Linked DNA regions of Homo sapiens: all the other regions are linked to region 4. The links are contacts of gene promoters, found by promoter capture Hi-C in blood cells and fetal thymus (Javierre and others, 2016). All regions are on one chromosome and are shown on one strand. Each heading gives the region's core, a stretch centred on a gene start or on the middle of the fragment in contact. The rest is flanking DNA. Distances are from core to core; before and after follow the strand shown.

Region 1 (4,040 bases), core at 144-2,643, 540 kb before region 4:
CAATGTGGGGGAATAAGGGAGGAGACCACCCCTCATATTGTCTTATGACCAATTTCTGCCTCAAAGAAAAAGTAGGAGTTAAAGAAAAGAAAGAAGCAAAATCAGTAAGACAGCCCGGCACTGCATTCCAGGTCTGGTAGTTAAAGATTAACCCCTGATCTAACCAGTTATGTTATATCTATAGATTCCAGACATTGTATGGAAAAGCACTGTGAAAATCCCAGTCCTTTTCTGTTCCATTCTGATTACCAGTGCATGCAGCCCCCAGTCACATACTCTTACTGCTTGCTCAGTCGATCACGACCCTCTCACACAGACCCCCTTAGAGTTGTAAGCCCTTAAAAGGGACAGAAATTGCTCACTTGGGGAGCTCGGTTTTTGAGTCCGCCGATGCTCCCAGCTGAATAAAGCCCTTTGCTTCCACAACTTGGTGTCTGAGGGGTTCTTGTCTGCAGCTCATCCTGCTACAGAACTTCCTGCATTTTCATTAAAAACTTTATTATTTGGGAACAATACTATGCAGCCACTAAAATCATGCTTTCAAAGTATTTAAAAGCATATGCAAATATTGGTCTTCTTACACTAAACATCATGATGTGGTTTTCTTGGATCTTGTGTGGATACTGTAAAAGAAAAATTTTAGGAATAAGCCAGTGTTCATAGCATGTCAAATGCTCTCTTGAATGGAGTAATTACAGGCAGCCCAAATGTGCTCTCAGCCACTAGTGGTGGTAGAACAAATGCAAAGCTGGTACTCAAAGTGACTCAGGAGTATGGCAATTTTTCTGTACGTGCTTTTCTAACAGTGCCTAGGAATGATGGTTTTTGCCTAAAAACAGGAAAGTTGGGTCGTCTTTATTGGAGCTTTCTTGCCATAGTCAAATAGAAAATAATCAGTGATGAGTATCATCTAACAAATTGATGGCTGACCTTAATGGAACATACTCAAAAGCTATCTTTTAAGCATTTGCTACTTTAATTAGAACAATTCATTCAGTATCACTGTTACAATATTCCATGACTCTTATTTTCAATATACTCAAAGCAACTTGAAAGTTTTATAAATTCTTTACTACAGTATTACCCGCTTATTCTGACACATAAAAGCTCTGTAGTTACACACTGTTAACATGTTAATGGCACATCTTACTAGCAACTTGCTGCACTTCTGTTATCAATAGAGGTTATGTGAAATACTTGGATAAGGACAGCCTGATTCTGTAGAAAATATCTGTTTTCTATAGAACAAAATATCTCCCAGTGGTAATTCAGCAAATTAGGTTCAAGAATGTGGGTAAAGGTAGGTGTAATGTTGGATTCTGAAGATCTACCTGCAGAAACAGATCTACCTACAGAAAGGCACGTAGAATTACTGTTAGGAAACCTAAGCAGCCTTAGCACCATGGTCAAGGTTTTAAAAACCTGATCTGTAACTGTTATGGGTTCATTTCCTAATGCAGAGAAACTGGCTAGTACACACAGTGTAGATTTAATGTGGGAAATATGACAACTTGGAAATGCTACCCAAAGATAAAAATCTAAAGACTATCAAAATTTGCTGTTTTCTAAAATCATACATTAGAATTTTGTGAAGTCTTCTGAATGACACAAAACCAGATGAAGGGAATCAGACCAAAATTACCTGAGTAAGGCCATTTCAAGTGCCTAACAAAGATGGTCAATATTAACTTGAAAAACCAGTGTTTCCTAAGTGTTCCTGATCAGAATTACCTGAGGTATTCCTTACAAATAAATTCTGAGGCCCATTCTCTTAAAGATTCTGGCTTAGCGGGTGGTACGTCTGGATTGAAGGCTAAGAATCTGTACCTTAAGCAATTCTAATTATCAGGCAAGTTTCGAAAATAGGGCTAAGCAGGAGTGTGTGTGTGTGTGTGTGCATGTGTCTGTCTGTGTGGAGGGGGGAGCGGGGAACAGGAACAAAGGAACAATACCAGCACTGTCTGGTCCCCTCATTCAAATACTGCCTGAAAAACTACCTGAGAATGAGAAACATTCAACTGAAGTTGAGGAATTATCTACAGAACACTGTTTATTTCAAGTCCAAAACACAAATTACTCATTTTTCTTAACAGACCGCATAATTTTTTCTGCATGAATATTTAGGGTTTCTCTATTCACAAGTACAGTTTATTACTAGACTTTAGGCTTGAATGATTCATATATATAGATATCAGTTTACTACAGAGGACATGTACTTTTAACATTTTTTGTTTAGAAAATATTTTACATAAAAACACAAAGCATTTACCAACACTCCACAACCAGTCTTCAGCAAAGATTTGGCTGAAGATAACTTTCTACAAAACACTCCAAGACTGAATAGAATGTAGTATTTTACATACTTTAGCTTATTGTTGCAGTTAAAAGCTCCCCCTTGTTTGATGGCTTCTGCATGTATCTACAAAGCAGAAGTCTTAACTGGTGACCTGTTAAATAACATTGCCTTTTTAAGTGAACTTGTCCCCAGCCCGGAACCTAAGTAGTCATAATGAAATAAAGTAATTGATATATGAGGGGCTTTTAGTAAGGGCTTTTTCAACCTAATAAAATAATAATTTAGTATCTATCAGTGCAATATTCTTTTACTGTTTTGTGTTCAATAACCACCTGGAGTGCTAATTGTCTAGTATAATCAGTTGGCATCAAAATAGAAAGTAAAAAGATGTACATTTAATATACCAATTCTTACCTGAATAATCTTGGATTTCTGGAGAATGTTCCACAAAGTGGAATTTCTTCCTAAAGTTATGCTGAATGTGGTACAATGTGTACAACTTGGTTAACCAGTGCCTGCTTTTCATTTCCAAGATTTTTCCTTATCTTGAATCAAATGCACAATCTTACAACTGTATCATAATGCACTGGCTTACAGTTCTGTATATAAAGTCCAACTCAAGCTTATTTTGGTTTATTGTACATGCTTTATTAAAATGGTACTTGTATTTACAGTATCTGCAGAAAGAGTCCCTTCCAAGGCCTCACACATTCAGACACATCCATACTGACACCCACTCCACAGCCCCATGCACCCACACCAGTGAGATGTGGAGGGTCAGACTCCTAAAATTAGGCAGCTGTTGGGGATAAGAGTTGATTTGTTTTTCAATTTTTTTGAAAACAGAAAAGCATGGGGGAATGCATTTGGCCATTACAATGCTAATTGAGTTTGTGTATATTACATATATGGCAGTTAACACTGTAATATTCCTTTTACATTCTATATACACAGAATGATATCAAGGTTTTATGGTCAACAGAATATTCCAACTTCAGTCTTAATGCTGCTTGTAGTGATTTCTGAATTCATTATAGGGGCTTTCCCTAAAAATAATTCAAGTCTATGTTAAGTGAAATAAGGCACAATTAATATTGATTTGATTTAGGGAAAGGGAAGGAAAGAGAAGGGATAAAAACTGGTTTCAAATGATCTTTCTGTTGGGGAACTAGCTCTGACTTAAACCCACCTGAAATTCCTTCTCCTAATTTCCAAAGATTTCTTTATAAAGATATTTTTCTTTTCCCTGACAAAGCCAAAAAGAAAAGTTTGGGAATTCACATTTTAATGTTTCAGTAGCCTGAACAACTCAAATTGATGTGTACCCCCACCTCCCCTGATCAGGTCGCCTCCCTCACCCATGTTAAAATAAAAACACAGTATGTGACACAGGAGTCCCTTGATGTTTCTTGAGGAGATCTGTACACTTGAGTAGCAAATACATATCTGGTTGTCTTCAATATATTTTAAAAAGAAAGAAAGAGAAAGAAGAAAGGAAAGAAGGAAAAAAGGAAGGAAAGAAGTAATATTGTGACTTTCTTGCTCTTTAAAAAAATCCCTGTCTCCTTCTTTTCAGGATGATGAAGCCCCACTAGACATTACAAACAACTGCAACAAATGAGTTTGGCAGCATAAATAATGTCTAGTTATTCAAATCTTCATAGTGAGATTAATTTATCTTGTACACAATTTGTTGAATGTTTTTCGCAGCAGGTGAATCAAACCCAAAGACTCCGGACAGTCT
Region 2 (3,820 bases), core at 1,207-3,706, 580 kb before region 4:
GTTTTAGTTCTTTCCCTTTGTTTTTTAACAATTTTGCTTATTATGTTTTCCCAGAATCACCATGATCGATTACTTCTGCTCATCATAAACATCTAGTTCCTAAGCAGGATATGAGAATCTGCCTTCCTGTGACCTCTCCTGGGCTCAGTGACACTCCAGTCGCCGCCCCACCCCACATCAATGCCACTTCCAAGTTTGACTTGCATCTTACAAACCATATTTCTGTTTACTTTTTTTCTGCCCTGGGACATTTTTAATAACTTTTAGATAACAACTTCAACAAAAATTTACCTCCCACCAAGAGAAGTTGTCTTTATTGTGAGAAGTTGTCTTTATTCCCAAGAAGGGGAATAACTTACTCTTTAAGTCAGTTTTATTACAGGTAAATTTGTACCAGCTTTTTCCTCTACTTGTGTTAAGACCTGTCTCCAATAGACATTCCAATTGAGGATTGTGGAAATAGCAAATTACATTGGTGTCTGCCCACCACTGAAGGCAAAAAGCTGGTTTATCTAGGCCACAGGCAGAGCCCGCAGGGGAGGCAGGTAACTTCTCGGACCACCAGATTATCTTGATCTTCAGCCAGCTTTATTGTTGTTCTACATTTTAATAAACACTACATGTTTATTTTATTTTATTTTATATGTGTTATGTTATGTTATGTTATTTTTTTTGAGGCAGAGTCTCCCTGTTTCTCCCAGGCTGGAGCACAGTGGTGAGATCTCGGCTCACTGCAACCTCCGCCTCCCAGGTTCAAACGACTCTCGTGCCTCAGCCTCGCGAGTAGCTGGGACTACAGACATGCACCACCATGTCCGCCTAACTTTTCTATTTTTGTAGAGATGGGGTTTTGCCAGGTTGCCCAGGATGATCTTGAACTCCTGACCTCAATTGATCCTCTCTCCTCAGCCTCCCAGAGTGCTGGGATTACAGGCGTGAGCACTGCGCGCCTGGCCTGTTTTATTATTTTGAAGATTACAGTATAGGTTTCTAGGAAGCCTGGATGGAGGTTCTCATATTCTAGGTAATATTTAGCTATTTAATAAAAATTTATTTTCAAAACCTTAAAGTTTGTGGATTACATACAATACAGTTTTTGACTTGGTGCATGAATGTATTGAAATGAACTTGATACCATTATATTCACTTTAAAGCATATCGGCACAATTTCCTAGAACCAATCTCTAATGACTATTCCTGAAACTTTTCATACTTGTCATATTTTTCCATTCAACTATGTTATTTACTTATTTATTTTAATTTTTTTGAGATGGAGTCTTGCCCTGTCACCCAGGCCGGAGTGGAGTGGTGCGATCTTGGCTCACTGCAACAGCCTGCCTCATGGCTTCGAGCGATTCTCCTGCCTCAGCCTTCTGAGTAGCTGGGGTTACAGGCGCACGCTACCACACCTGGCTAATTTTTGTGCTTTTAGTAGAGACAGGTGTCATCATGTTGGCCAGGCTGGTCTTGAACTCCTGACCTCAGGTGATCTGCCTGCCTCAGCCTCCCAAAGTGCTGGGATTACAAGCCTGAGCCACTGCACCCGGCCTTGACTATGTTATTTAAATCACTAGTGCCTAAACTTTGCTAAAGTGATATAGTAATAGCTCAAATAATCGTAATAAGGATATTTTCAGAATAAAAAAGAATATCATGGAAGTTATTACCCAAGTAAAACTTCATTCCAATCTTTGCATTTTACCTTCTCTCAACTATGAGAAGTCAGGAATATTGTCTATCTTGGTTACCATTATATTTCCAACAAAGAAGAATAAAAGAAAGAGGGAAAGAAAAGAGGAGGAAAGATGGAAGGAATATCTTGAAATCCTGTCATCTAAAATAACTATCATGACATCTGGCATATATAACATAATATTTTGCCTAAATTCTTAAACTATACAAGGACAATATATGTAAGATATTTTATTTATATTTATTTATTTTTAATTTCTCAGCAAAAGCCACATTCAAATATGTAAGGTATTTTAAACAATATCACAAGTGCTGAAGAGATAAAACACATAAGAGCCAAAAGAGTGAAGACTGATAGAAGGCAGGCTGTAACTAGAAATCCTTCTAGCCATCATCCAGGGAATGGAACTGTATATGAGATTGAAGTATGGTTATAGCTAAACATACTTGCTTGATTTTTTAAAGCTTTACACAGTTGATTCAGGGTAATTATTGTGTTATCTTTGGGGGATTCTTGATCCTGAACAAAGCTTCATTGTTAGTACTACTACGTTAAAAGTCCTATTGAGTGAAACAGAGGATATAGTCTAATTCAAGGGCCAAGGGAAGGCATCAAAATATTTAATTGGTTTGTCAAAAACTCCCACCTTTAGAAACTCCTGGGAGGTGCAGTGGCTCATGCCTGTAATCCCAGCACTTTCGTAGGCCAAGGTGGGAGGAACACTTGAGGTCAAGAGTTCGAGACCAGCCTGAGGAAATAGCGAAATCCAGTCTCTACAAAAAAGGAGGAAGAGGAGAAGGAGAAAAGGTGCACAAATTCCTAATTTTTTTCCTCCACTTTATAAAAGAAAGGCATTGTCCTGACCTATCCCAAATACTGCTGTAGTTATGCAAGCTGTCATGGGCCACACATAGGTGAAATCTTCATAGTAATTCATTGAGCTATCATAAACCCACAAGACTTGCTAAATTTCTCTTCTTTATAAATATTTATGGGTAAAGCTTTGTATATTGTGGCTAGTGTACACTGTATTATTCAATGAGGGATTTAGAACACATTTTTATCAAATCATAAAATATGCATTACAATTACTATGAGTCCATCCTACAAAATGTTTAAAATTGTTAACTTTTTATTTACAAAATATATTATTTTAAAAATAGCTGCTAAATTTGTTTTTAGTAGACTAAAGCATTCTGTTTCATTAGATTTATTTTAAAAGTTGAATCATGATTTTTCTCAAGACAGGCATTTCCAGTAAATCTGTGGCCAAGATTGTCGAGCTGTTTACCCAAAGCATTTCTAGAATGCTAGACTGCATTCCTGTCCTCCTGCTCTTTCAGGTTTGCCAATATAATTGGTTCTGGTTATTGGAAAGCAGATGAAGTAAGGGGCTCCACTTCTAGACTTGGCCACGTGCCATCTTCATGCTCATTCCTTTCTTCTTCAGCTATACAGAAGCCATATGTTGAAAACAACAGAGCCCTGAGGAGTAGCCCTGAATCACTACCTAGTCCTTTTGGGGACTCTATATTAAATCAAGAAATAGCTTTTAATTATATTAAGCCACAAGATTTTGAACTTTATCTGTTACAGTAGCTAATATTAACTTAAGTGATAATAACAAATTTACTACTTATGTTTAATAATTACCAAAATGTGTATATATTGTTGTTGTCTCGATCAATTCTATATTAATATTTGTAATAACTCAAGAAAAGTTTTTATCAACTAGAACCACTTATAGTCAGAGTAAAGTAAAATTTTAAATTATGTACTTATTTTTGTTTTAATACATTTACATATCTGGTCAATAATATTTTCAAACATAAAAACATTATGATAAAAATCTGGAAAAAATGGGATAGAATACAAGCTCAAGGAGAAAAAGGAAAGATGTAAGCTTTCTAAAAGTTAAAGAATAACTTGCTCATATATTTAAAAAAATAGATCCAAATGTTATATATTTGGATTTCGTTGGATTCGCTTAAAATGAAATTTATAATATGCTGGAAATTATGACCTATGCAATTATTTAAAATTATAAAAAGCTTAGATGTCAGCTTAAAGCTTCATGAGGGATATATAGCTTATGAAAATTATTTTAGGGGGTTTTCAAGCAAAAAA
Region 3 (4,012 bases), core at 672-3,171, 640 kb before region 4:
AATTTTTGCTCCTTATTATTTCCTTTTTTCTTATTTTGTTCCTCCTTTTCTAGTTTGAGTGGAAGCTTAGATCATTTATTTGACACCATTTTTCTTTCCTATTATAACCATTTAATACTACAAATTTCCACCTAAGCAGTATTTTAGGTGTTATTGTATTTTGATTTTCATTCAGTTCTATATATTTTCTAATTTCTTTTTAATTTTTTGATACATCAGCTATTTAGAAGTGTTTTTGTTTAATTTTTAAAATTTGGATATCTTCCTGAAATCTATTTTTTTGAAATCTAATTTTTAAGGGAGAGTTTAAATTATTGATTTGAGAGTTTCTTTTCTGATATAAGCATTTAATATTCTCTCTCTATCTCTATTTCTATCTTTATCTCTATCTATCTATATATTTTTTTAAGACAGAATCTCGGAGTCTCGCCCTGTCGCCCAGGCTGGAGTGCAGTGGTACAATCTCGGCTCACTGCCACCTCTGCCTCCTGAGTTCAAGCGATTCTCCTGCCTCAGCCTCCTAAGTAGCTGGGATTACAGGTCTGTGCCACCACACCTGGCTAATTTTTGTATTTTTAGTAAAGACCAGGTTTCACCACGTTGGCCAGGCCGGTCTCAAACTCCTGGCCTCAAATGATCCACCCACCTCGGCCTCCCAAAGTGCTGGGATTACAGGCATGAGCCATGAGCACAGCCCTTAATTCTATGTATTTTTATTTAAGCACTGATTTAGCTGCATTCCACAAATTTGATATGCTGTATTTTATTAATTTTTATTCTTTTCAAAACATTTTCTAAATTCTTTTGAGACTTCCTCTTTATGGATTATTTAGGAGTGTATTCGGTGTAATTTCCAAGTGATTGGAATTTTTTCAGTTACCCCTCTGTTATTAATCTTATTGATATATAGTTTAATTATATTATAGCCAGAGAACATACTTTACATTATTTTAAAATTTAAAATTAATTTGTTAATTTCAAATTTGTTTAATTAATTTGCTAATTTTATCACCCACAATATAGTCTGTCTTGGTGAATATGCCATATGCATCTGAGAAGAATGTTTATTACACTATTTTTGAGTAGAATGTTCCATATTGTCTGTTCAATTCAGTTGGTTAATGGTGTTGATGAGTTCTATATCTTTGCTGATTTTTTGTCTACTGGTTCTGTCTTACTGAGAGAGGAGTGTTGAAGTCACCACCTATAATTGCAGACTTGTTTATTTCCTATTTCAGTTCTGTTGTATTTTGCTTTATTTATTTAGAAGCTCTTTTGTTAGTTCACCTTATACCCATTGGTATATTGTGTCATCTTGGTGAATTGGCCCTTTCATTCATATATGTTGTCCTTGTTTGCTTTGAAATTTAGTTTGTCTGATTTTAATATAGCCATTCCAGCTTTCTTTCATTTCTTTCTCATGGTATGTGATGTATCTTTTGCCAACTTTTTACTTTTAACGTACCCATATCATTATATTTGAAGTCAGTTTATTATAGATAGCATATAGTTAGTTCATGTTTTTTATTCAGTCTGACAGTATATCTTTTAATTGGTATGTTTTGACTAATGTAATTATTGGTATGTTTGGATTTAGGTCAACCTTTTTATTATTCATTTTCTTTTTCTTTTCTTTTTTTTTTTTTTTTTGGCTTCTATTGCCCATTTTGTGCATTCTTTGTGTTGTTTGTAACTTTTTCCATTACATTTTAATTTATGTACTATGAATTTGGACATATATATCTTTTTTTGTATAATTGTTTTTAGTGATTGCTCTAGGGGTTGCAAAACACATACTTTTCAGTTTATTTGGAATCAGTATTTTACCATTTCAATAAGAATGTAGAAACCTAACCTCCATAGAGATTTTTTTTTTTTCCTTTCTCTCCCCACCGGCCCCACCCCAAGAGATAGGGTCTCACTCTGTTGCCAAGGCTGGAGTGCAGTGGTCTAGTCATGGCTCACTGCAGCCTCATACTGCTGGGTTCAAGCAATCCTACCACCTCAGCCTCCCGAGTAGGTCGGACTACAGGTGCACGCCACAAAGCCCAACTAATTTTTTTATTTTTTGTGGAGACAGGGTCTCACTACATTGACCAGATTGGTCTAGTACTGCTGGCTGGCCTCAAGAGATTCTCCTACCTCAGCCTCCCAAAGTGCTGGGATTATAGGCATGAATCACCACACTCAGCTGAAATTTCTTTATGTAATAATTGTCTTATATATCTTCATATGTTAAAAAGCCCATCAGACAATGTTTGATTGTCTTTCAAGCGTGTTTTACTTTCAAGCGTGTTTTAAATAACTTAAAAGGAGAATAGTCTATTATATTTATCTGGACCTTTACCGTTTATCTTGCTGTTCCTCTATTTGTGATGTTTCAGGTTTCCTTTGTTATCATTTTCTTCTGTCTGAAATACTCAGGTTAGCAATTCTTTTAGAGCAGTTCAGTTGGCTATGATTTATAGTTTTCTTTCTTCTGAGAATGTCTTTATTTCACCTCATTGCCAAGGATATTTTCACTGGATAAAGAATTCTGAACTGACAATTGTTTTCTGTTAGTGATTCAAAACTGTTGTACCACTCCTTTCTGTCCTCCATGGTTTTTGGTATAATAATTTATAGTCATTCAAATTGTTTCCCTACAAGTAATGCATCTCTAGCTACTTTCAAGATTTTTTTTTTTTTTCATCTGACATTTACAGCAAATAGAGTGTGATGTGCCTTGGTATGGAGTTCTTTGGGTTTATCCTGGATGGGATTCTCTGTTTCTTAAATCTGTAGGTTTGACTTTAGACAAATTTGGGAAGTTCTCAGCTATTATTTCCTCAAAAAAAATTTTTAGCCCTGCATTTCTTCTCTCCTAGACCTTTTGTTGTCTCACAGGTTCTTAAGGATTGGCTGATTATTTTTTTTCAATTTCTTTTTTTTTCTGTTGTTGAGGTTGCTTTTCTGTTTTCGGTTCAATTTCTGTTGATTCTGGCTGCTTTTAATGTTTCCTCTGTCACCTATTTTAAGCACCTTAATTACGATTGCTTTGGTGTACTTTTCATGTTTCTTGTGCTTGAACTCACTGGATTTTTAAAATATGTGTGTTTATACATTTTTAATCAAATTTGGAAAGTGTTCAGCTGTTCCTTTAAATTTAAAATTTTAATTAAAAAATTAATAGGCTGGGTGTGGCAGCTCATGCCTATAATCCCAGCACTTTGGGAGGCCAAGGCGGGTGTATCACCTGAGGTCAGGAGTTCGAGACCAGCCTGGCCAACATGGTGAAACCCCATCTCTACTAAAAATACAAAAATTCGCTGGGTGTGGTGGCGCACACCTATAATCCAAGGTACTTGGGAGGCTGAGGCACGAGAATCACTTGAACCCGGGAGGTAGAGGTTGCGGTGAGCCAAGATCAAACCACTGCATTCCAGCCTGGGTGACAGAGTCAGACTCTGTCTTAAAAAAAAAAAGAAAAGAAAATTAATAATGTTTTCTTGTTACTTTTTTCTCTTTCTCTCAAGACTCCAATTACATTTAAAATTTATATTAGGGCACTTGAAGTTGTCCCATACTTCACTAATGCTCTGTTTTGTTGTTGTTGTTTTTCAGTCCTTTTACTCTGTTTTTGTTTTAGGTAACTTTTATTCCTCTCTTCAAGTTTATTAGCCTTTTCTTCTACAGAGTCTATTTTTAATCCCATCCAATGTGTGTGTGTGTGTGTGTGTGTGTGTGTGTGTGTATGTGTATGTTTTAAAATCTCAGCTGTTGTCCTTTTCTCATCTAGAAGCTTGATTGGGTTCTCTTTTATACTGCCTATATATATATTTTAATATGCTTATGTTTTTCTGTGCTTTATTGAATACACAAAATATAGTTATGATTTTGTTTTTTTGCTAGCAAAGTGTGAATCCAGGATTTGGATTCATATCTATCTGACCGCTATAGTTCAGTGGCCAGCAAATTGTGGCCCATTGGCTGAAACTAGCCTGCCACGGGCCAATGTGATAACGCTGGTCAT
Region 4 (4,011 bases), core at 535-3,034:
TCAGGTTAGGGGCCAGCTGTTAACTTAATTTTATTACCAGGGAAGAAACTGAGGCTCAGATAAAGTTCTTTTATCCCACAGGCACACAAACTGCTAACTGATAGAGCCAGATCCAGCCATGTCTGGCTACAAAGCCTGTGTACTTTAACTTCTACAGAGAGTATGTGCGAGGTGAACCAGTAAAAATAACAATAACAAGTGCAATACTAAGAATAGTAATAATGATAGTTAACACAGTGCTTTACATGTGTGATCGCTTTGAACAGGATTAAGTGAACACATGAATAGGACTGGCAGGGAGTCTTTCTACTCTTCATTAGCGAAACAGGAGAGGACATATACAGTACTTAGGATTTCCACTGGCTTACTTTGTTTTCTGAAAAATAACTGAAAGGCTCAATTAGTTTTGTTTTGTCGCATTTATCAGATTATAACGTTCTGGATGTGGGTCTGGATGTGGGTAGTTGGGCTGGTGTGGGATTACATGAAATCAAACCTGATATATTCAGAAAGATTCTTCCGGTGGACACATATGCCTTTTGGGTTCGATATTCAATTTTGTAATTAGTGATCACTGTTCCTATTTATTTATTTATTTATTTGAGACGGAGTTTCGCTCTTATTGCCCAGGCTGGACCACAATGGCGCATTATCGGCTCATCACAACCTCCACCTCCCGGGTTCAAGCGATTCTCCTGCCTCAGCCTCCCCAGTAGCTGGGGTTACAGGCATGTACCACCATGCCCGGCTAATTTTGTATTTTTTAGTAGAGACAGGGTTTATCCATGTTGGTCAGGCTGGTCTTGAACTCCCGACCTCAGGTGATCCGCCCACCTAGGCCTCCCAAAGTGCTGGGATTACAGGCGTGAGCCACCGCGCCCGGCCTGAATGGGAGTTTTTAATCCGTACTTTTTTCTTATTGAAGTTGAATGTCATATACCCCTCTATTTCCCTAGATGAATCCATGAAAGAAGTATGTTGCCCTCTATATGAAAAAGCAAGCTTGTCTTCTGCAGAAAATCAGTAACCACTCCTTTTTACACATAAATACCCCCAAATGAATCTCCGATGACTGATCTGATACTAGTCTGCAATTCTAGTTTTAGCATTAGGCTCACTCCTCATATTTGGGAGAAGATGTCCAATTCTGTAGTAATGTGTAACATAAAGTGGTGTCAATTTATAAATAATATCTTCTAATGAATTAATGCTCATTTGCAATGATCACTTCCATACAAATTTAGGTAAAGATGTTATTCAGAATTGGATTCTCTCTATTTAAAAATGTCATCCTAATGTGCAACTCCCTAAAACTGTTACTACAAACAACTATTTTGCCACTCAGCCTAAAAATAAAACCTTTCACCCAAATGACACATCTTAATAGCCATATTTTAATCTACGTAATTTTAAACTATTCTGAAAGAATCCATTTCTAGATGTCAGACAAGAGTTGAAACTGGGACAGCAGTTTGAAGGGGCTAATTTAAAAACCCACTTGCTTGGAGACACCTCAAGAATTTCTAGGCTCACAAGGTGGGTGAAGTAAGGAAAGAGACTAAGAGCTGAACAGTGCCGTTCTTTGCGAGCCCCCACTGGCGCAGGCTGAGCCGGCTGCGGCTAGGGCTGCGAAGAGTTAACGAGGGACCGAGCCCCAGCGCCGCGGGCTCCCCGCATGCTCCCTCCGCCCTCCCGTCCCCACCCTCTCGTTTTGGCAAGGGATTAAAGTGCTCCCCCCTGTGGCAGCAGTGACCCAGAAATGAGTTTGATTCACATAGTCCTTCCTCCATAACAAGCCAAACGCCAGACCGAGAGTGCCTCCGTGCGCGAGTGCCCGGTGTGTGCGCGCCGGCGAGAGCAGGGGCCCGCCCGGCTCCCCGCCCGCCGCGGCCCGAACTCATGCAGCTCCGAGCGAGCGAGCGGCGCCCAGCCCAGCGCCTCGGCCGAACCCCTCCGCAGCAGGTACGCGCGCGGGCCGCGGGGGGCGCGCGGGGTGGGCGCGCCGCGCGTGTGTCCGCGCGTGTCCGCGTGTGGGTCCGTGTGCGCGTCCCGGTCCCGCGGCGGCGACGGCGGCGGCGGCGGCGGCGGCTGCAGGACGAGCCGAGAGGCTCAGCCATATTTGATGGTTTTGTTGCTTTGCTCGGGAGTTCTCGGGAGTAATTTAATGCCGAAGGTCGCTGCCTAGTGGAAATAATATAATACGTCATTAATATGGCGCCAAAAGATTGGGTTCTCGATCTGTAGCGAGGAGGGAGGGAGGCAGCCGCTGAGCGCAGCGTTACTATCCCACCAGTAACTTGGGCATTGCCGGGGCGGGGGCCGGAGGAGGAGGAGAGGATGATTTTTGGATCCTGAGAATTGATCTATGTTGGATCAGTAAGTTTTATTATGATTTTTTTTTTCAAATTTGGGGGGCTGAAGACTTAGAGCTATTTCTTCTTTTGGATTTGCGAAGAACATGCGGTTTTCAGGTGAATCATCAATTAAACGCGTTTAGGAGCAGAAGCCCAGTTTAAGTTGGCTTTAGTTTATAGGTTTTTTTTTTTTTTTTTTTTTTTTAGAAAGCCAAAGTGCATTAGGCTGCATGAAAGTGGAAAGCATAGTAGCAACTTGGTAGACAGATGGCAATGGCAGAACGCAGGTTCGCGTACATATATGAATCCAGAGTGTGTGAGACCGTGTGTGTGGTGGGACTGTATTTGTCCAAACATAGGTGTGCGTAGGTACATCTGTGTGTGGTGGCCGCAGCCCTGGCTCTTGTCACCGCGTCACCACATGTCCAAAATATTCATTGCATCAATTCAAGGGCAGTGAGAGGGGGGTGGGGGTGGGGGTGGAGGGACAGTTTGGCAATTAGATTCTTCCGAACTGGGCTTCCAGTGATCAGATCTTTTACTTACAGCGCGACTGCTTGTAAAGTGTAAAACCCCTTAATCGATGAAATGGGGTAGGAGTTGGCGTTGGTAGAGCAAAGTACCGATTAATCGTGAACTTAAAGGGGATTGCAAATTGCAACCTTTGGCACCATCTGCAAATTGTGGGGGTGGGGTCTCTTGGTCTCCTTGCTTCCTTAAATGAACGTGTAGTGTGTACCCCGGGACTGCAAGTTGCAGAGCCCTTCAGTGCACGTGTCTTGTGCCTGTGAGTCTGTGTTTGCGAGTTGGGGGCTGTTGTTCGGTAGCCAGCAGGCTTTCCGGGTTGCTCGGCATTGGCTTGCAAATGCGGGAGAGGGATGGAATGTGGAATGTTGACCGGGGAACCGAATCCTGTCGGAACGGTCCCATTTGCTGGAGAAATTCGATCCCTTCCACCTCCTTCCCGCTCCCCCCCGCCCGCCTTCGGGCAGGAGGCGGGGCTGAGGACGCGGCTGCTGCTCAAAGTGGCGGAGCGCGGCGGCGGGAGGCAGGTGCACGGCACCCGCCAGTGGGGGTGCCTCAACTTCCGCGGGCGTTTAAATAGCAGCCTCTCTCCCCTCCCACCGGTAATAGGTGACCTGGCGGCCGAGGGCGGCGGGGGAGGGAACCGGGGGAGACTCGGGAGCGAGCCTCCGCGGCACGTGGGCAGGTGCTGGGTGGCCCCGGGGCCAACTTTTGTAGCCCGCCTCTGGTGTTTGAGGAGAGGCGGCCCAGTGTGGAAATGGGGGCGGGCGGCGGCCGAGGCGCTGCTTCTCCGCTGCGGCCGGAGCGTCACCTAACGGTCCCAGCTGCGCCGCCCGGGCCGGGGTGGGGGGTTGCGGGGGCGGGGACGCCCGGCCCGCCGCGCCCGCCCCGCACAAAGCCCGCGGCGCGGGGGTGGCCGCTGCGCCCCCGCCCCGGGAACGGCCCGAAGCCCGACGCGGTCCCCGCGCCGGTTCCGGCGGGCGGCCGCAGGCGTTTGTTTGTTGGTTCCGCGCCGCCTTCCTCGCCGGATGGCTTCCTGTGACAGAGGTGATACACAGTTTCCAGAACTGTCTGGGGGCGGGAGCGGGAGCGGGAGCCGAGCCCGCTCGGAGCTCCTCGCCGCCGCTGCCGC
Region 5 (3,907 bases), core at 104-2,603, 660 kb before region 4:
GTGATTTTTAAATTTGTTATTCCCTATATGTCTGTTAGTATTCTTCTATAAAGAAGAACTTTCCTCTCCACTTCATTTTTTTATTTTTATATTTTAATTTTCTCCCTTTTTAGTGATAGTATGGACTCCAACATGGATTTCTATCCATTCTTGTCCTCATTCATTTTGATGTTCAGAATATCTCAAACCTAGTCAGGTTAGAGCTCTCTCAAGATGGTTCCTGCTTATAACCAGCATGTTGTCATCTGTTCAGCACATTTATATTTTATGGCACAACAAAGTGGTCTTGTTGCCCTCTTCCTTTTTTACTTTTGTTTTTTAATTGTGATAAAACACACAACAGGATTTATTATTTTACAGTTTTAAGTTTACAATTTTGGTTTGCCTTTTTTTTTTTTTTTTTTTTTTTTTTGAGATGGAGTTTTGCTCTTGTCACCCAGGCTGGAGTGCAATGGTGTAACCTTGGCTCACTGCAACCTCCACCTCCTGGGTTCAAGCGATTCTCCTGTCTCAGCCTCCCCAGTAGCTGGGATTACAGGTGCCCGCCAGCACACCCAGCTCATTTTTGTATTTTTAGTAGAGACGGGGTGTCACTATGTTGGCCAGGCTGGTCTTGAACTCCTGACCTCAGCTGATCCGCCTGCCTCGACCTCCCAAAGTGTTGGGATTACAGGCATGAACCACCACGCCTGGCCTTGGTTTGCCATTTATTTATTTATTTATTTATTTATTTATTTATTTATTTATGAGACAGACTCTCAGTCTGTCGCCCAGGCTGGAGTGCAGTGGCGCGATCTTGGCTCACTGCAACTTCCGCCTCCCGGATTCAAGCGATTCTTCTGCCTCAGCCACGGACTACAGGCGTGCACCACCACGCCTGGCTAATTTTTGTACTTTTAGTAGAGATGGGGTTTCACCATTTTGGCCAGGCTGGCCTCGAATTCCTGACCTCGTGATCCATCCGCCTTGGCCTCCCAAAGTGCTGGAATTACAGGCATGAGCCACAGTGCCTGGCCAGTTTGCCTTTTAAAATGTGGTCTTCCCTGGTTTATCCCTGGCCTACTTCTCTTATTATTTTGATAGCTTGTCTAGAAATGATAGACTCTATTCTTAAGTTTTGGGTTTTTATTTATTAACTGTATGCTAATGACTCCCTTGTGTCTTTGTGGGACTCTAGAACTATATTACCGGTAGCCTACTAAATTCTCCAGTTATTTGTCTTATGTTTCATAGGCATCTTTTTTATATTCTGTCTCTCATTTTAAAAAATGAAAGAAAACCCACCCCAAACCTATATTTTTTATTTTGCTTGGATGCCTTAGGAATCCCCATCCACTTATCGTAACTTCTAACATGCAGTTTGTCACTAGGTCCTATCAGTCCTTTCATATTCATTCCTACTGCCATGCGTCATCTCTCTATAGAAGTTTTATAGGATGTTCTTGGCTCTAGTTCATTCTCTTTCTAGCTTAACTCTTGTCAGAGTAGTCTTTCCTCCTTATTTCTCATTTCATTTTTTTTCCCTAGCAAATTAGATAATTTACTACAAGTCCAAGAAGCAGTTCTTGATTTTAGGCAAGGCTTTGTATAAGACACCAAAGAAAGACTTTGCTTTTCTTTACCCCTATCTTTGGTGTACTTTGCTCTGTGTTAGCTTCATTTTCAGTTACGCTTTCTCTGAGTGGGAGCAACAGTGGCCATTGATGGTTTCAGGCTTTCATTATTTTCAAAGTAAATGATTCCAAGGAAAATCCTTCATCCTTCTAAAATCCTTCATCATCGTAAAATATAAATATGATTATTTCTCTGTTTTTCTTAATTCTATTCAGTGGTTCCTCACCCCCTTCAGGATAAAGTTCAAATTCTTTGGCAAGCAAGAATTCATGAATTCTTGATTTGGCTTTTACATATTTTCATTGTCCTGTTGCTCTCTGCTTTAAAATTTGTATCCATAAATACCAAGTTGCATGTGCAGTTTCCTCTGCCTGCAGTGGCTTTTCACATTGTTTACTTGCCAAATTCATTATCTTTTAGCTAAATAAACCCCAGTTCAGATATTACTCTTCCAGGAAAATCTTATTTGATAAATTTTGTGCTCAATCCCAGAAAAATTACTCTCCTGTTCTACCTTTGCACCACATATGTATGTTTGTTTTTGACTTATACTGAATTGTAATCTGTTTACAAAATTTTATTTTTTTTGAGACGGAGTTTTTTGCTCTGTCACCCAAGTTGGAGTGCAATGGTGTGATCTCGGCTCACTGCAACCTCCGTCTCCTGGGTTCAAGCAGTTCTCCTACCTCAGCCTCCTGAGTAGCTGGGACTACAGGCGCCCACCACCACGCCCAGCTAATTTTTATATTTTTAATAGAGATGAGGTTTCACTATGTTGGCTAGGCTCCTCTCGAACTCTTGACATCAGGTGATCCACCTGCCTTAGCCTTGCAAAGTGCTGGGATTACTGGTGTGAGCCACTGTGCCCAGGCTACAAATTTTTTTATATCCATTAGATCATTAAATCTCTTTGGTCCCTTTTTGAACAAGGCAAGGTATAAATTTATTAAAAATAACAACAACAACAAAAACAAAAACCAAAATTAGGCTTTGGTTGTGCATCCAGTTGTGGTAGACTGGCTAATTCAGATGAACCCTATTGCTGAGAACAGCTGAAAAAGTAGGTTTAAAAAATCTGTGTGAAGGCACAGTAGAGGGCCAAGACAGTAAAACATCATGTGGTCAAAATCTGGAAAGAGAGTCGGAAGCCAGCGGCCGTGGACCACGCGGAGCCGCCAGCCCGGGGCATGTTCTGAGACTTCAGGGAACCCGGCCCGAGCTCCGGGAATGGCGTGGGTATGGCGACCCCGCGCAGCCCCCCGGCCGCAGTGCAGGCAGCCCAGCAGAAGTTCCACCTCGTGCCAAGGATCAGCAACATGAGTGGCAGTGAGGAGCTGCAGTGGATGGTACAGCTTCATTTTCTGGGGCCCAGCAGTTGCCCCAGGCCTCTGACCTACCCTTAGTCCAGCCCCCTACAACCCCAGCCAGGAGCCATCCGGGCCCTGGGGCCGCCTCCAGTGGTGTGTCCAAGGCCTTGTGAACAGATCAGCCCGGAGGAAGAGGAGCGCCGCCGAGTAAGGCCCGAGCGGAACAAGCTGGCTGCGGCCAAGTGTAGGAACTGGAGGAAGGAACTGACTGACTTCCTGCAGGCGGAGACTGATAAACTGGAAGATGAGAAATCAGGGCTGCAGCGAGAGATCGAGGAGCTGCAGAAGCAGAAGGAGCGCCTGGAGCTGGTGCTGGAAGCCCACTGACCCATCTGCAAAATCCCCGAAGGAGCCAAGGAGGGGTACACAGGCGGTACCAGCGGCACCAGCAGCCCGCCAGCCCCCTGCCGCCCTGTACCTTGTATCTCCCTTTCCCCAGGGCCTGTGCTTGAACCTGCGGCACTGCACACCCCCAAGCTCATGACCACACCCTCCCTAACTCCTTTCACCCCCAGCCTGGTCTTCACCTACCCCAGCACTCCTGAGCCCTGTGCCTCAGCTCATCACAAGAGTAGCAGCAGCAGCGGAGACCCATCCTCTGACCCCCTTGGCTCTCCAACCCTCCTCGCTTTGTGAGGCACCCGAGCCTTACTCCCTGCAGGTGCCACCCTAAGCAACGTCTGCTCCCCTTCCCCCACCAGTCCAGCTGGCCTGGACAGTATCCCATACCCAACTCCAGCAGCTGCTTCTCCATCCCTCTAATGAGACTAACCATATTGTGCTTCACAGTAGAGCCAGCTTGGGGCCACCAAAGCTGCCCATTGTTTCTCTAGAGCTGGCCTCTCTAGCACAATTTGCACTAAATCAGAGACAAAATATTTCCCATTTCTGCCGGAGGAATCCTGGAAGCCCAGAGACTTTGTAGA
Region 6 (3,877 bases), core at 1,309-3,808, 600 kb before region 4:
AGTATTTATTTAATGCTGTGTACAAAGATACCATTATAAATTTTGGTTTGGGGAAAATCTAACACATCCCCAATTTATCACTAAATCTTTTGGCCAGTTCTTCAGAAATACCAGGGAGAGATAATGTGTGCATCTAAAGAGGTCATACTGAACTGTCCAAGGGCTGCCTTTCATGCAGCAGGTTCTCAGTATACCTTCATGATGTGCTACGGCTGAGTCAACAAAAATAGCAAAGCCAGCTGTAGATTACTAATTACCAGTTCAGTTAAAAATCTGCATACCGGCCGGGCGCAGTGACTCACACCTGTAATCCCAGCACTTTGGGAGGCCGAGGCAGATGGATCCCCTGAGGCCAGGAGTTTGAGACCAGCCTGGCCAACATGGTGAAACCCCGTCTCTACTAAAAATACAAAAAATTAGCTGGATGTGGTGGTGGGCACCTGTAATCCCAGCTACTCGGGAGGCTGAGGCAGGAGAATAGCTTGAACCAGGGAGGCGGAGGTTGCAGTGAGCCGAGGTCGCACCATTGCACTCCAGCCTGAGCAACAAGAGTGAGACTCTGTCTCAAAAATAATTAAAAAATCTGAATGCTAAAATTTTATTTTTTGTTTAGGATTAGTTGTGCCATGTTTGCTTATATTGATGTTACTAACTATAGAGATATTGTATTTTATTATAAACCTTTTATTTTCTCTTTATAGGTATGGGTTAGAATGTCTGTTCAGGTTTTATAGTTATGGACTGGAAAAAAAATTCAGGCGAGAAATTTTTCAGGATTTCCAAGAAGAAACCAAAAAAGACTACGAATCTGGTAACAATAACATCAGAAAACTTGTACTCTAATTGGAAATTGTAAACCTGAGTCTGTCAGTAAATAGGGAAGGAGTTCATAGTTTTTTTCTTCAGGGCAAACCATTTAAGATCTTCATGCTATTGTTGTGTTTCTTGATGAAGGATGGGGCACCAGGTAGTAAGAAGGCCTTTCCTGGGAGGTGTTGGAAAGTAACTACTCTCAAGTCTTTCTTTTATGGAGGTATATTTTGTCATTATCCCTTTGACAAACGTGGCTACTCACTGATGTTCCGTTACATGAAAATTCTATGCAACATCAGCAGGTAAGCTTGGAAAGGCAGAAATAGCACAGTGGTTAAGAGTGCAGGCTCTGGGACAGACTGCTAGGTGCAAATTCCCTTTCCACTATTTAGAAGCTATGTGATTGTGGGTAAATTGCCTACCCTTGCTAGCCTCAGTTTTCTCATCTGTAACATATATGAGAACACCCATCTTTTGGGTTGTATATGGTTCAAATTAGTTTGATGCATAATAAAGCACTTAATGCTTGTTACATAACAAATGCTCAATAAATATTAGCTGCCATTATTGGTTAATTCATTACATGTCTTATTCTCAAGATCTAGAGTAAGCATATATTGGAAGATAAATTGTTTATTGCTGATAGGATTATATTTAATGTGAATAATTTTTAAAATTTCATATAATTCATAATGTATATTATTCTTTGTTATTAGGTCAGCTGTATGGACTAGAAAAGTTTTGGGCTTATTTGAAATATTCTCAATCTAAGACACAGTCTATTGACCCAAAACTTCAGGAATACCTCTGTAGTTTTAAGAGGTTAGAAGACTTCCGTGTTGATGTAAGTTTTAAGTCATTTCCTCTATTCTTTTTATTATCCATATATTTCAGTCTCTTATCAGTGACTTTTTAAGCTTTAATTTTGTAATTTTTATTTTTTAACTTTTTAGTTTTAAAATTAAACTTTGAAATAGATATAAAAATAGTTCAGAGAATTCCCATATACTCTGTTCACTCAGATTTCGCAAATGTTAACATCTTGTATAACCACAGTGCAATTGTTAATTCAATTTAATTTTCATATGCTGCTATAATTAAACATTTTCTAGATTTATTAATTTTTACCTGATATGCTAATTTGTCACTAGCAATGTGAAAACTTTTCACTTTTTAATGATCTTTTATCCATATAATTCCTGTAACATGTGCTGATATGGATTTAGGGTACCTGCATAATAAAATTAAGGAGAGAATGTTGTGTGCATGTGTGCAAGCACAAGAGTGGTGTCTTTTAGTTGAGTCAGCCAGACAAGGTCCTTTTGCTGCCATCTTACAACGATGTCCACTCTCATGCGTTCTTCTCATCACCTTTGGTGGAAGGTTGAACTTATATAGGCTTTATCCATTTGATTTCAAGAGGAAAAGAAAAGCATTAAAAAATGTCACGAATGTAAGAAGATAGAGGAAAAGGAGGAAGAAGATAAATAAAAAATAAAGGAAAAAGCCTGGGTGTGGTGGCTCACACCTGTAATTCCAGCACTTTGGGAGGCCGAGGCGGGTGGATCACCTGATGCCAGGAGTTCAAGACCAGCCTGGTCAACATGGCAAAACTCTGTCTCTACTAAAAATACAAAAATTAGCTGGGTGTGATGGTGCACGTGTGTAATCCCTGCTACTCAGGAGGCTGAGGCACAAGAATTGCTTGAACCTGGGAGGTGGAGGTTGCAGTGGGCAGAGATTGTGCCACTGCACTCCAGCCTAGGCAACAGAATGAGACTCTGTCTCAAAAAAAAAAAAAAAAGGGAAGAAGAAAAATTTTAAATTTAAAAATAGGAAAGAAGTAAAAGGAAGGCTAGGTTCATCATCTCTGCTTTGTGTTGTAATTTGTCTTGCAGTTTTGTGTAAATGGACTTGATGACCCAGGGATAGGGTTAATAAAAGTGCCTGTCTCTGGAATTAAGAGCTATTTTTCTAGAGTGGCCTAGCCAGTTCTGTCACAAAGACATCCTTGCTCTATATTTGAGACTCTTGCCCCATCTGAACATAAGCTAAGAATTCAGGCCTCCTTCTTTAAGTACAACGGAAGATTGGATGAGGAGGTTACTATCTTAGTTTAGCTCCACATAAAAATACTAGTTCATTGGTGTCCAGTTCTGGGCTCCCAAATCTTGGTAACTGGAAAGGCATAAAAAGCTGACTTTTTTTGAATGCAGGATACCTTTTCACTGGGTACTTAAACGTTTGAAGATGTTTAAATTTGGTGCCATCAATAATATTCTCCAGTCTCATCATAGGAATTCTAGATAAACCTTCAAACTTGCTAACGATAATTTAACTTGGCATCTCTTTTATTCCCCTACTGCTTTCATTTATCTGTTATTTAAACATTTTCACTTAAGCAAGCCTGGAATAGGAGTTTAGGATTGAGAAAGAGACTGGAAATACAAATCCTTTACAGTTGATGAAATTAATAAAGAAGGCAAATAGCCTCGCTGAAACATTTTCTTGGAGCCAAGGAACCCAGCCTTATAGTTATGCCCCATCAGATAGCTCAGGCCCTAAAAAATGAGAGAAGCTTAGTAAACATGTGTTGAGGCCAGGCATGGTGGCTCATGCCTGTAATCTCAGCACTTTGGGAGGCCGAGGCGGGTGGATCGCCTGAGCTTAGGAGTTTGAGACCACCCAGGGCAACATGGTGAAACCCCGTCTCTACTAAAAATACGAAAAAATTAACTGGGTGTGGTGGCTTGCGCCTCTACTCCCAGCTACTTGGGAGGCTGAGGCAGGAGAATCGCTTGAACCCCAAAGGCAAAGATTCCAGTGAGCCGATGTGGCACCACTGCACATCAGCTTGGGCTACAGAGTGAGACTCTGTCTCAAAACAAAAACAAAAAACAAGCAAACAAAAAAAACACTCGGGCTACAGAGTGAGACTCCGTCTCAAAAACAAAAAACAAAAACCACAAACATATGTTGAGTAAAAGAATGAGCAAATACTAGTAGGCTGATTTAGTTAGGAAGGAAATTTAAGTTTAGTACCTTAAGTTGCTGTTAAGTTTTT
Region 7 (3,669 bases), core at 296-2,795, 620 kb before region 4:
GTGTATTTACCCAAGGCCTATACCTCCATTGTATCTTGGAAGTACCTACCTTGTTTTTGATTTTACAGGCTCATAGGTGGAAGGGACTAGCCTTGTCTCAAATGAGACTTTGGACTTTTGAGTTAATGCTAGAATGAGTTAAGACTTTGGGGGATTGTTGGGAAGACATGACTAGATTTTGCAATGTGAGAAGGACATGAGATTTGGCAGGGGCCAGGGTAGAATTATATGGTTTGGATCTATGTCCCCACCCAAATCTCATGTTCAATTGTAATCCCCAGTATTGGAGGTGGGGCCTGGTGGGAGGTGATTGGATCACCGGGGCAGTTTCTCATGGTTTAACACCATCTGCCTTGGAGTTGTCATTGTGATAGTGAGTTGTGAGATCTGGTTGTTTAAAAGTGTGTGGCACCTCCACTGTCTCTCTTCCTCCTGCTCCAGCTATGTGAAGTGCTGCTCCCCCTGCCTTCCACCATGATTGTAAGTTTTCCTAAGGCCTCCCTAGAAGCTGAGCCAGCATCATGCTGTACTGCCTACAGAACCATGAGCCAATTAAACCTCTTTCCTCTATAATTTACCCAGTCTCGGGTATTTTTTTTTTTTTTTGAGGCGGAGTTTTGCTCTTGTTGCCCAGGCTCAAGTGCAGTGGTGTGATTTCAGCTCACTGCAACCTCCGCCTCCCGGGTTCAAGTGATTCTCCTGCTTCAGCCTCCTGAGTAGCTGGGATTACAGGCATGCACCACCATGTCTGGGTAATTTTTGTATTTTTAGTAGAGATGGGGTTTCTCCATGTTGGTCAGGCTGGTCTCGAACTCCCAACCTCAGGTCATCCGCCCGCCTTGGTCTCCCAAAGTGCTGGGATTACAGGCATGAGCCACTGCGCCTGGCTGGGTATTTCTTTATAGTAATGTGAGAACAGCCTAATACATCTAGCTGAAGGTTTGTTGATTTTGTTTATCTTTTCAAAAAACCAACTTTTTCATTTCATTGATTTTTTGTACTTGTTTTAGTCTCAATTTTATTTATTTCTGCCTTGATCTTTATTGTTTCTTTCTACTAATTTTGGGTTTGATTTGTTCTTTTCTAGTTCTTTTAAGTACATCGTTAGGTTGCTTATTTGAAACCTACTTTTTTGATGTAGGCATTTATTGCTATAAAATTCTCTCTTAGTACTGCTATGCTGTATCTCATAGGTTTTGGAAAGTTACGTTTCCATTTGCATTTGTTTGAAGACATTTTGAAGTTTTCTTCTTAATTTCTTTATTAATCTGTTGATCATTCAGGAGCATGTTGTTTAATTTCCACGTTTGTGTAGATTCCAAAATTCTTCATGTTATTGATTTCTATTTTTATTCTGTTGTAGCCAGAAAAGATACTTGATATGATTTTGACTTTTTTAAATTTGTTGAGACATGTTTTGTAGCCTAACATATGTTTTATCCTGGAGAATGTTCCATGTGCTAATGAGAAGAATGTGTATTCTGCAGTAGTAGGTGAAATGTTCTATAAATGTCACTAGGTCCAGTTGGTCTAGGTGTAGTTTAACTTCATTGTATCTTTGTTGATTTTCTGTCTGGATGATCTGTCCATTATTGAGAGATGGGTGTTGAAGCCCCCTGCTATTATTTGTATTATAGTCTATCTCTCCTCTAGATTTATTAATGTTTACTTAATATATCTGGGTGCTCCAGAATTGGGTGCATATATTTTTAAATTGTTACAGCCTCTTGCTGAATTGATCCTTTCCTTTATCATCATACAGTGACCTTCCGTGTCCTTTTTTTTTTTTTTTTTACAGACTTTCACTTGTTCTATTTTGTTTGATACAAGTATGGCTACTTTTTTTTTTTTTTTTTTTTTTTTTTGCTTCCATTTGCGTGGAATGTCTTTTTCCATTCTTCACTTTCAGACTATGTGTGTCTTTATAGGTGATTTGAGTTTCTTGTAGGCAATATATAGTTGGATCTTGTTTCTAAAAGTTTTTCACTCAGCCATGCTTATATCTTTTGGTTGGAGAATTTAGTTCATTTACATTCAGTATTATTATTGATAGATAAGGACTTACTACGCAGTATGTCATTACTTGGTTTCTGGTTGTTTTGTAACTCCTCCCTTACTTCCTTCTTACTGCCTTTGTTTGTGATTAAGTGGTTTTTCTCTGGGAGTATGTTTTAATTCATTGCTTTTTATTTTTAGTGTATCTATCATAAGTCTTTGCTTTGTGGTTACCATGAGGCTTACCAAAGCCATAGCTGTAAGTTATTTTAAACATATGACAACTTAACTTTGATCACAAAGAAAAGGAAAGAATCAAGGGAAAAACTAAAAAACTCTACACTTCAACTCCATCCTCCCACATTTTGACATTTTGTTGTCTTAATTTACATCTATTTATCTTCCCTATCTCTTAACAGGTTGCTGTTAATATTTTCAGTAGATTTGTCTTTTAGTCTTCATATTAGAGATATGAATGGATTACATGTAACAATTACTGCATTAGAGCATTCTGAATTTGTCTACTTTTACCAGTGAGTTTTATACCTTCAAACATTTTTGGTTTTGCACATCAAAGTTTGTTTTCTTTCAAATTAAAGAACTCCCTTTAGCATTTCTGAAAAGATGGGTCTAGTAGTGATGAATTCCCTTAGCTTTTGTCTAGGAAAGACTTTATATCTCCTTCCTGTTTGAAGGAAAACTTTGCTGGGTACAGCATAGTTGGTTGGCAGGTTTTGTTTTTGTTTCCATTTATCCTGTAGCACTTTGAATGTGTCACTTAACTCCCTCATGGCCTGTTTGGTTTCTGTTGAAAAGTCTCTTGCCAAAAAAATCAGAGCTCTTTTATATGTTCTTTTATTTTTTTTCTCTTGCTGTTTTAAGGATCTTCTCTTTGTCCTTGACATTTTCAGGTTTGATTATTATTTGCCTTGGGATACTCTTATTTGGATTGAATATTGATATGGTTTGGCTTTGTGTTCCCACCCGTCTCATCTCGAATTGTAATTCCCATAATCCCCATGTGTCAAGGGAGGGACCTGGTAGGAGGTGATTGGATCATGGGGGCACTTATCCCATGCCGTTCTTGTGATAGTGAGTGAGTTCTCACAAGATCTGATGGTTTTATAAGTGTTTGACGGTTTCTCCTTCACACATACTCTCTCTCACCTGCTGCAGTGTAAGGGTGCCTGCTTCCCCTCCCACCACGATTGTAAGTTTCCTGAAGCCTCCCCAGCCATGTGGAACTGAGTCAATTAAACCACTTTCCCTCATAAATTACCCAGCCTCAGGTATTATTTATAGCAGAGTGAAAATGGACTAATAAAAATATATTTGGTAATTTCTGACCTTCTGTACCTAGATATTTATATCTTTCTTTAGATTTGGAATGTTTTCTGTTATTTCTTTGAATAAGCTTACTACTCCTTGCTCTTAACTCATCATTGAATGCCAGTGGCTCTTACATTTGTTCTTTTGAGATTATTCTTTATATCTTGCAGGTGTTCTTCATTCCTTTCTTTTTCTCCTCTGACTGTATTTTCCAATAGGCTGTATTTGAGCTCACTGATTGTTTCTTGCAATGTGAGAGCCTGTAATCCATTTTTCAGAAAACGTATTTCTGAGTTCCAGGATTTTTTTTTTTAATTTCAATCTCTTTGTGTTACATTTCTCTGA

The links. The method cuts DNA at HindIII sites, captures the fragments that hold promoters and counts their contacts. A CHiCAGO score of 5 or more calls a contact.
Region 1: a fragment that was not itself captured here is called in contact with the fragment with the promoter of JADE1 in region 4 in 9 of 17 cell types (naive CD8 T cells, total CD8 T cells, total CD4 T cells and 6 more); the score reaches 8.0 in naive CD8 T cells.
Region 2: a contact is called between a fragment that was not itself captured here and the fragment with the promoter of JADE1 in region 4, in 5 of 17 cell types (megakaryocytes, endothelial precursors, M2 macrophages and 2 more). The highest score is 10.4, in megakaryocytes.
Region 3: a fragment that was not itself captured here is called in contact with the fragment with the promoter of JADE1 in region 4 in 1 of 17 cell types (megakaryocytes); the score reaches 5.1 in megakaryocytes.
Region 5: a contact is called between a fragment that was not itself captured here and the fragment with the promoter of JADE1 in region 4, in 1 of 17 cell types (M1 macrophages). The highest score is 5.9, in M1 macrophages.
Region 6: a fragment that was not itself captured here is called in contact with the fragment with the promoter of JADE1 in region 4 in 14 of 17 cell types (megakaryocytes, erythroblasts, M1 macrophages and 11 more); the score reaches 11.3 in megakaryocytes.
Region 7: a fragment that was not itself captured here is called in contact with the fragment with the promoter of JADE1 in region 4 in 16 of 17 cell types (megakaryocytes, naive CD8 T cells, naive CD4 T cells and 13 more); the score reaches 28.4 in megakaryocytes.

Annotation. Positions count from the first base shown.
Region 1 is chr4:128,267,218-128,271,257 of GRCh38, forward strand. It overlaps PGRMC2 (progesterone receptor membrane component 2), which reads right to left. Exons shown (of 3, transcript NM_006320.6): 3 at 2,025-4,040. Among named protein-coding and RNA genes, the nearest start is that of PGRMC2, 19 kb to the right of the region's middle. The HindIII fragment of the contact is 3,045 bases long and covers 1-2,916 here.
Region 2 is chr4:128,222,295-128,226,114 of GRCh38, forward strand. It overlaps a transcript of LARP1B not described here. Among named protein-coding and RNA genes, the nearest start is that of PGRMC2, 64 kb to the right of the region's middle. The HindIII fragment of the contact is 472 bases long and covers 2,221-2,692 here.
Region 3 is chr4:128,169,240-128,173,251 of GRCh38, forward strand. All of the region lies in intron 12 of LARP1B (La ribonucleoprotein 1B), which reads left to right. Among named protein-coding and RNA genes, the nearest start is that of LARP1B, 110 kb to the left of the region's middle. The HindIII fragment of the contact is 3,716 bases long and covers 64-3,779 here.
Region 4 is chr4:128,807,916-128,811,926 of GRCh38, forward strand. It overlaps JADE1 (jade family PHD finger 1), which reads left to right and starts at 1,785. Exons shown (of 11, transcript NM_199320.4): 1 at 1,785-1,962. RefSeq lists silencers at 1,608-2,087, 2,598-2,717, 3,348-3,627, 3,748-3,847 and an enhancer at 2,188-2,297. The HindIII fragment of the contact is 6,052 bases long and covers 1,001-4,011 here.
Region 5 is chr4:128,152,588-128,156,494 of GRCh38, forward strand. The region is part of intron 11 of LARP1B (La ribonucleoprotein 1B); the gene reads left to right. It also overlaps the pseudogene FOSL1P1. Among named protein-coding and RNA genes, the nearest start is that of LARP1B, 93 kb to the left of the region's middle. The HindIII fragment of the contact is 6,075 bases long and covers 1-3,907 here.
Region 6 is chr4:128,205,727-128,209,603 of GRCh38, forward strand. It overlaps LARP1B (La ribonucleoprotein 1B), which reads left to right. Exons shown (of 20, transcript NM_018078.4): 18 at 702-811; 19 at 1,530-1,657. Among named protein-coding and RNA genes, the nearest start is that of PGRMC2, 80 kb to the right of the region's middle. The HindIII fragment of the contact is 1,661 bases long and covers 1,729-3,389 here.
Region 7 is chr4:128,187,486-128,191,154 of GRCh38, forward strand. All of the region lies in intron 15 of LARP1B (La ribonucleoprotein 1B), which reads left to right. Among named protein-coding and RNA genes, the nearest start is that of PGRMC2, 98 kb to the right of the region's middle. The HindIII fragment of the contact is 3,724 bases long and covers 1-3,407 here.